2 separate regions of the Homo sapiens genome follow, and region 2 is linked to region 1. The links are contacts of gene promoters, found by promoter capture Hi-C in blood cells and fetal thymus (Javierre and others, 2016). All regions are on one chromosome and are shown on one strand. The core of a region is centred on a gene start or on the middle of the fragment in contact, and the rest is flanking DNA. Distances in the headings are between cores, read along the strand shown. Region 1 holds the start of TEK (TEK receptor tyrosine kinase). Region 2 overlaps IFT74 (intraflagellar transport 74).

What was found. Contacts are between HindIII fragments. The CHiCAGO score rates a contact against its expected background, and 5 or more counts as called.
Region 2: a fragment that was not itself captured here is called in contact with the fragment with the promoter of TEK in region 1 in 1 of 17 cell types (endothelial precursors); the score reaches 6.7 in endothelial precursors.

The regions. Positions count from the first base shown.
Region 1 is chr9:27,106,703-27,110,485 of GRCh38, reverse strand. TEK (TEK receptor tyrosine kinase) reads right to left here and starts at 1,261. Exons shown (of 23, transcript NM_000459.5): 1 at 844-1,261. The coding sequence starts at 895. The HindIII fragment of the contact is 9,085 bases long and covers 1-3,783 here.
Region 2 is chr9:27,030,885-27,034,484 of GRCh38, reverse strand. All of the region lies in intron 13 of IFT74 (intraflagellar transport 74), which reads right to left. Among named protein-coding and RNA genes, the nearest start is that of LRRC19, 27 kb to the right of the region's middle. The HindIII fragment of the contact is 6,282 bases long and covers 1-3,600 here.

The DNA of each region.
Region 1 (3,783 bases), core at 12-2,511:
GATATGTAGTTCAGGTTTGGATACTGCCTTCTACCTATGTCACATAGGCTGAGTGAGCTACAGAGGCACACCACTATCTGGAGTATCTAAGCAATAAACACGCTGAACCCAACACACTGGCCAACCACTCCTTCACTCTACAACAGGCTTCATATACTCTCCTGTGTTAAAGATTTTGGTAACTGCCTAAATTTTTGTTTCATTGGGCCAGTAAACCCTTTATGAATTACTACATGGCAAACATTTTTTAAAATAAAACAAAAATTCTAATAGCCCCAATCTCCCTGACCCTAACTACAAGAAAAAAAAAAAAGCCTACAATTTCATTGCTTTGCTTAAAATAGGATGTAGATATAAAATCTTTTTACAGAAAAGCATCTTTGTTCCCTTTTAACAGTGACAATCTATACACTGCCTTAATTGGGCCCCTGTATTTCTCAGCATGAATTTCATTTTTTACTGAAGATTTTCTTTAAAGCAGGTAAAACCGGTTTGTTCTTTAAAAAAAAAATCAATAAGAAAAACACTCCAGAATGAGGAGCAGGAAAATAATGCATGATAGTAAGGGGATCTCTTCAAATAAGATGATTTAATCGGTCCTCAAAGAGTTTCTAACACAGGGGCCAATCACCCAGAAGACAAACTAGCAAAATCAGTTCATGCCACAGAGCCTTTGCATTTCAATCCTTCCACACATATTGACTGGAGACTCACAGAGAAATGGTGCCTTTGCTACAGCCACCCCTTGTTCATCAGCACTGATGAGATTTGGGGAGAGCACCCAGAAATCACTAACTCTGTTTTTTAAAATACTAAATTAAAAAAAATAAAGCCAAACCTTACCAGAAAGGAGCAAGCTGACTCCACAGAGAACTAAGCTGGCTAAAGAGTCCATGCTTCCCCAAATCTCTCCATCCAGTTTCCACAAATGTGCATGAGGTCCCAAGGATCCTTTCAAAAACCCAGCGGTTTGTGACTTTCCATTAGCATCGTCCTACTACGTCTTGTTTACAAGTTAGAGGCAAGAAGGAACAGCACAGAAGCAGGCTGTAACAGTCTCATTTCTGTCTGAGCACAGGGAGTTTTAAGTTCCTTTTTCCTGTTTCCTTTGTAGATTAGGATGGGAAAGGCTGTATCTTAAAGGCATTTGGTATCAGCAGGGCTGGGGGCACTCAAGCCCTATCCATCTCGCAATTCATCAAAACACTTATCTGTTGCTGTTGCTTCTGCTGCTGCTTTTGCTGCTGCTGTAGGGGCAGAGGAATTTTTGTTGGAAGTGTGGGTCCCGGTCAGCATTTTCAGAAACAATAGGGGTATCCTCTCATAGGCGGGAAACTGAGAATAACAAGCCCTCCACCTATGTATGGTATGCGATGATGACCAATCCTTCTCAGACTTCTAACAGCTCTCCCGGGGCTACTGGGATCTCTGACAGAAGGAGCTTTTGGGTGTGGGAAGCCGTTTTGGCTTTTGTTTTCTCATTTTAACCCACATGGTTTGAATTGGGAGAAGAAGGTTTCCGTGATGAGAAAATACAACCTGAAAAGCAATTAATTTCAGTGAGCACCGGTGAGGTCAATGCTCAATGTAGCCCCAAGAGACCAGAGTCCAAAATTGTTAGCCTGTTTTCTTTCACACAGATGGCCTGTTGGTTGGCCATTAGCCCAAAGATACCCATGTTGCCGGCTATAGCTTTAATTTTCATTAACAATTCATCTAAAGGTGATCAAATTTCTTGAAGAAGTTGGCATAGAAGGATTTTGGTAATGAGAAAGATTTGGTAGTCATTGAGCAATGGTGTTTCAGAAGCAAATTATATATAACATTTAAAAACTAATCTGTGTAAAAACACAAACATACAGGATTAGATTGGGATAAAAATGGTGCTCATGAGAGCAAAGAGAGTTCATGGACCAAAATGAAAATAGCCATGGAATGTACAATATCTAGAATGAGGTCAGAGACCCTACACTTATCCAGATAATTACTCCACAATATGAATTATGACATTAGATTAGAGAGTATACACTTTGCTCATCATCGACCTTCATGCCTGAGGAAATCATTATACTCCTCCTTTTCCTACCCACCAGAGGAAAAGGCAGATGCAGCTAGTCTTGACTAATTTCTGTCCCAGGTTTTATCACATCGATGATGATCTTAAGAACCAATTAATGTTTCCAGTTTGCAGGTGTGAAAAAGCCCAGGTTCTGTCTGCAAACAGAACTGGGTTCAAATACTGGCTCAGCCACATGTGTAGCTGAGAAAAGTTACTTAGTCTTTTTGAGCCTCAGTTTCAACAGCTGTGAAATGGCAAAAATATCTCCTTCCCAGGTGTTTTGAGAGGAATAAATGAGGTTTAAAAATATAAAACCATTTGGTACTATGCCTAGTTCTTTGAAGGTTCTCATTAAATGTTAATAAGTTTATTTTCTTTCATCTTTCCATTCAGTCTCAATTTAAATTCCAAGAGCTTCTACTAAAAAGCTATTTTCTATTCCTATGAGATGACTTTAAATTTGTCATCACGAAAAAAAAAAACAAAAACAGTGGGCCTGGCACAGTGGCTCACGCCTATAATCCCAGCACTTTGGGAGTGGATCACCTGAGGTCAGGAGTTTGAGACCAGCCTGGCCAACATGGCAAAACCCCATCTCTACTAAAAATACAAAATTTAGCTGTGCTTGCTGGCGTGCACCTGTAACCCCAGCTACTCTGGAGGCTGAGGCAGGAGAATTGTTTGAACCTGGGAGGCAGAGGTTGCAGTGAGCCGAGATCGTGCCACTGCACTCCAGCCTGGGTGACAGAGCAAGACTCTGTCTAAAAAAAAAAAAAAAAAAAAGAAAAAAAAGAAAGAAAAATGAAGTTCCACACAGGCTAAGTTACTTGCTCTGCTGTGAGTAGCAGAGGTAATAATATCTGAATCCTGAGCTCTGGACCTCCAATTTTTCCCTTGTTTCATAGTTGAAAAGTAGATCAAGAGTAATGTAGGACATCACAAACACCAGCAGGGTACACCTAGACCTTACAGAAGTATTTGAAATGAAACTTTGACAGATAAGAATAGTTTGGTGACACTGAGAAGTGCGGTCAGTTCTTAGTGTGCTTCTGAAATAACTAATGTCAGGATCGGTGGGTGCTGTATTAATTCACTTCAGGAAAATGAAAGGGGCCTCCTCATGAGTCAAGCTCATTCCATTTAATTTGATTTTTCCAGACATACCTACAGTAAAAGCATAAAGAAAACCAAACCAAACTAAACAAACAAACAAGGCTCTTGGCTGATTCTTCATTTTCTATTTCCTGCTTTTTGCACTCAATACATGAAAAACACTATAGACAACATTAAAAGTCTTTGAGACTAATTAACAAAGGTATCAATAGATAACAAAACGGTTTTTCTGAAAGAGGTGGAAAATAACTTACATAATACTACTATACACTGGTATCACATGTCAAGAGGTCAACATCACAAACACAAAGCAAAAGCCTTGTATGCATACCCTTTGGCCCAGAAAATCCAGTTTTTTTTTTTTTTGAAATAGAGTCTCACTCTGTCGCCCAGGCTGGAGTGCAGTGGCACTATCTCGGCTCACTGCAACGTCCGCCTCCTGGGTTCAAGCGATTCTCCTGCCTCAGCCTCCTGAGTAGCTGGAATTACAGGCGTGCACCACCACACCCGGCTAATTTTTATACTTTTTAGTAGAGATGGGGTTTCACCATATTGGCCAGGATGGTCTTGAACTCCTAACCTCATGATCCACCCCCCCCCCCCCTTGGCCT
Region 2 (3,600 bases), core at 5-2,504, 76 kb after region 1:
TTATTTTACCCTCCATAATTAAAGAAACAATGGTCCTAACCAAGGCTTTAGAACTCTGAGTATGAAAAAGTATACTATAGACAAACCAAAGTATTATATTTTGTTATTTTACTACTTTGAATGACACATATATATTATGCAGAAAGTTACAATGAATTCATTCAGAATTTAAGACAGTAATTCAATATTCCTATAGCACTTTGCATATATTTCTATTATGACATATTTACCACATTGTAGCAACTAGTTATTTATATGTATTATGGTATTTTAATAATCATATATTTGGTTTTACAATCAACTCCACATTTGGGAAAATACTTGAATCTGGAAAGTAATCATTTTTGGTGAGTAATAATGCCCAATAATCCCTCCTGGAGAGACATATGACAGTGACCGTACAACATTTGTTAACTCTATTTGTCAATCCTACTGTGTATATATTAATAGATGCTCAGAAAATTAGCCCCATCTTGTGGATCGCGGTGGTACTACAAATTCAGGCCTAACAGTCAAAACTTCGGAACTGTCAGTGATGTGTACCTTATCTTGACTGACAAAAACTAAAAAACTTATGGCTAGCATTGGTAAGGAACCACCTTCACATACTGCTTTTGGTTGTATAACATAATACAACCTTTTCTGGGAAGAAATTTGCAAACCAGTTGTAAATATAAATAATATTCCATTCAAAATTTCACTTCTAGAAATTTATTCTGTGGAAATAAACAGACAAGTTATAAACATGAATGTACTAGTGCAGCACTGTTCTTGGGAGTAAAAAATTAGAAACAGCCTAAATATCAATGTGGATACAATGAATCCTATGTAACAACAATCATAGGGGTAGCTAATGGTTGTCAGAAGCGCTTAATGTGCACCAGGCACCATTTTTTTTTTTTTTTTTTTTTGAGACAGGGTCTCACTTTGTTATCCAGGCTGAAGTGCAGTGGCATGATTTTGGTTGGAGTGATTTCGGCTTACTGCAGCCTCGACTTCCGAGGTTCAAGTAATCATCCTACCTTAGCAAATAGCTGGGACTACAAGTCAAACACACATCACCATGCCTGGCTAATTTTTGTATTTTTTTGTAGAGACAGGTTTTCGCCCTGTTGCCCAGGCTGGTCTCGAACTTCTGAGCTCAAGCAATCCACCCCCCTCAGCCTCCCAAAGTGCTAGGATTATAGGCATGAGCCACCACACCTGTACCAGGCACCATTCTTAAGTCTGACTTTAGAGCCCTAACATTGACCACTATGCTATACCATTTCTCAGAATGAAGTATACATCCTCATAGGGAAGAATGTATATTATACAGTTAAATGAAAAGACTCAAGCTCAGAAGAACTGTATATTAGTATTACTCCATTTAAAAATATGTTTATCAATGTATTAAAAGTCTAAAAGCCTAAACATTAAACTGTAAACCATGATTACCTCTGAAGACTTGGATGAGGAGAAAGGAGATGACATTTTACTTTATATACTTTTCTGCTTGCATTTTTCATGTTAAATACATGCCAGATTCATATTTAAAATTACAATTTTAAAAAATTAATCTGAATCTTTAAAATAATTTTAAGTAGTTTAAAAGACTTTTTTTTTTCTTTTTTTTCTTGAGATGGAGTCTTGCTCTGTCGCCCAAGGCTGGAGTGCAGTGGCGCGATCTTGGCTTACTGCAACCTCTGCCTCCCGAGTTCAAGCGATTCTCCTACTTCAGCCTCCTGAGTAGCTGGGATTACAGGTACACACCACCATGCCTAGCTAATTTTTGTATTTTTAATAGAGATGGGGTTTCACCATGTTGGTCAGGCTGGTCTCGAACTCCTGACCTCATGATCCGCCTGCCTCAGCCTCCCAAAGTGCTGGGATTACAGGCGTGAGCCACTGCACCCGGCCAGGACACTTTTTTTTTAAGCTGAAAAGGATGACCTCCTATAAGCTGAGGCTAATTGCCCAGTTAATGAAAGCATGAGGATGGTCATTTAAGGCAAAACACACAAAAAAAATCTTTTTAAAAATAAGTAAAATGATCTACCTTCAAGGTGCTTAAAGTTTCAGAAATTCTAGGTAATTAAGGCTTATAATTGTCATTTCCTGGTATGAATGGCACGTTGAACATGCACATCTAATTTTGATCCTCCCGCAAACCCCACTAAAACTATAGCAAAAAGAATTTTTAAAGGTAGAAACCCCCAGCATATAGAAATAGGAGACAACAGCAATAACATTTTGGAAGCTGAAAGGAGATGGAGAACTGGTAACTGACCTAGCAGACTTGAGAAAGTTGAAATCTAAGCCAGCATTGGGTGAAGCTGAGAACTACCCTGATTTCAAAAGGCTCAGTATTTTTGCATAGAAAACTGATCACTTTTTTTGTGATTTGTGTAAGGCTTTGACATGTCTTATAATAGTAATGCTGTTCTTTATAGAATTTATTCAATGTAAGGGAATACACTAGTAAAGAGTAAAACACCAGGCACAGTGGCTCACACCTGTAATCCCCACACTTTAGGAGGCCAAGGCAGAAAGACTGCTAGAGCCAAGCACGTTGAGATCAGCCTGGGCAACAGAGCAAAACCCTGTCCCTACAAAAAAAGTTTTCAACAATTAGCTGGGCATGGTGGTGTGCACCTGTAGTCCTAGCTACTCAGGAGTTTATTTTACATTTTATTTTATTTTATTTTACATTTTATTTTATTTATTTTATTTTATTTTATTTTATTTTATTTTATTTTATTTTATTTTATTTATTATTTTATTTAGCTAAGGCAAGAGGATCACTTGAGCCCAGGAGTTTGAGGCTGCAGTGAGCTATGTTGTCACACCACTGTACTCCAGCCTGGGTGACAGAAAGACCCTATCTCATTAAAAAAAAAAAAAAAAATGAGTAAAGTTAAGGGCCTGATTTCAGCTAAGTGGTCGAAGAAACTATTTACTCTGAAGGACTTCAATATAAGATATAAACTCTCAAGTATTAATCTGTAGTAAGAATAAAAGAATTTCTTTTTTTTTTTTAAGACGGAGTCTCGCTCTGTCACCCAGGCTGGAGCATAGAGGCGCGATCTTGGCTCACTGCAAGTTCCGCCTCCTGGGTTCACACCATTCTCCTGCCTCAGCCTCCTGAGTAGCTGGGACTACAGGCGCCCACCACCAGGCCCGGCTAATTTTTTGTATTTTTTAGTAGAGACAGGGTTTCACCGTGGTCTCGATCTCCTGACCTGGTGATCCGCCCACCTCGGCATCCCAAAGTGCTGGGACTACAGGCGTGAGCCACCGCACACGACCTAAAAGAATTTCTTAACAGATTCCTTAACAAAAACAAGCTGGGCACAGTAACATGGACCTGTAGTCCCGGCTACTTGGAAGGCTGAGGCAGTAGGACTGCTTGAGCCCAGGAGTTCAAGGCCACAGTAAGCTATGATCATGCCTGTAAATAGTCACTGCACTCTAGCCTGGCCAACACAGCAAGATTCATCTCCATTTAAAAACAAAAAAGTCACTTGGCTATATGTTAGAAGTAAGCCTTGAGGATAAAAACATCCTTATTAAAAATAGTATCCCATGTTGAGTGAAAATATAAGCTGCTATTGTCCACTT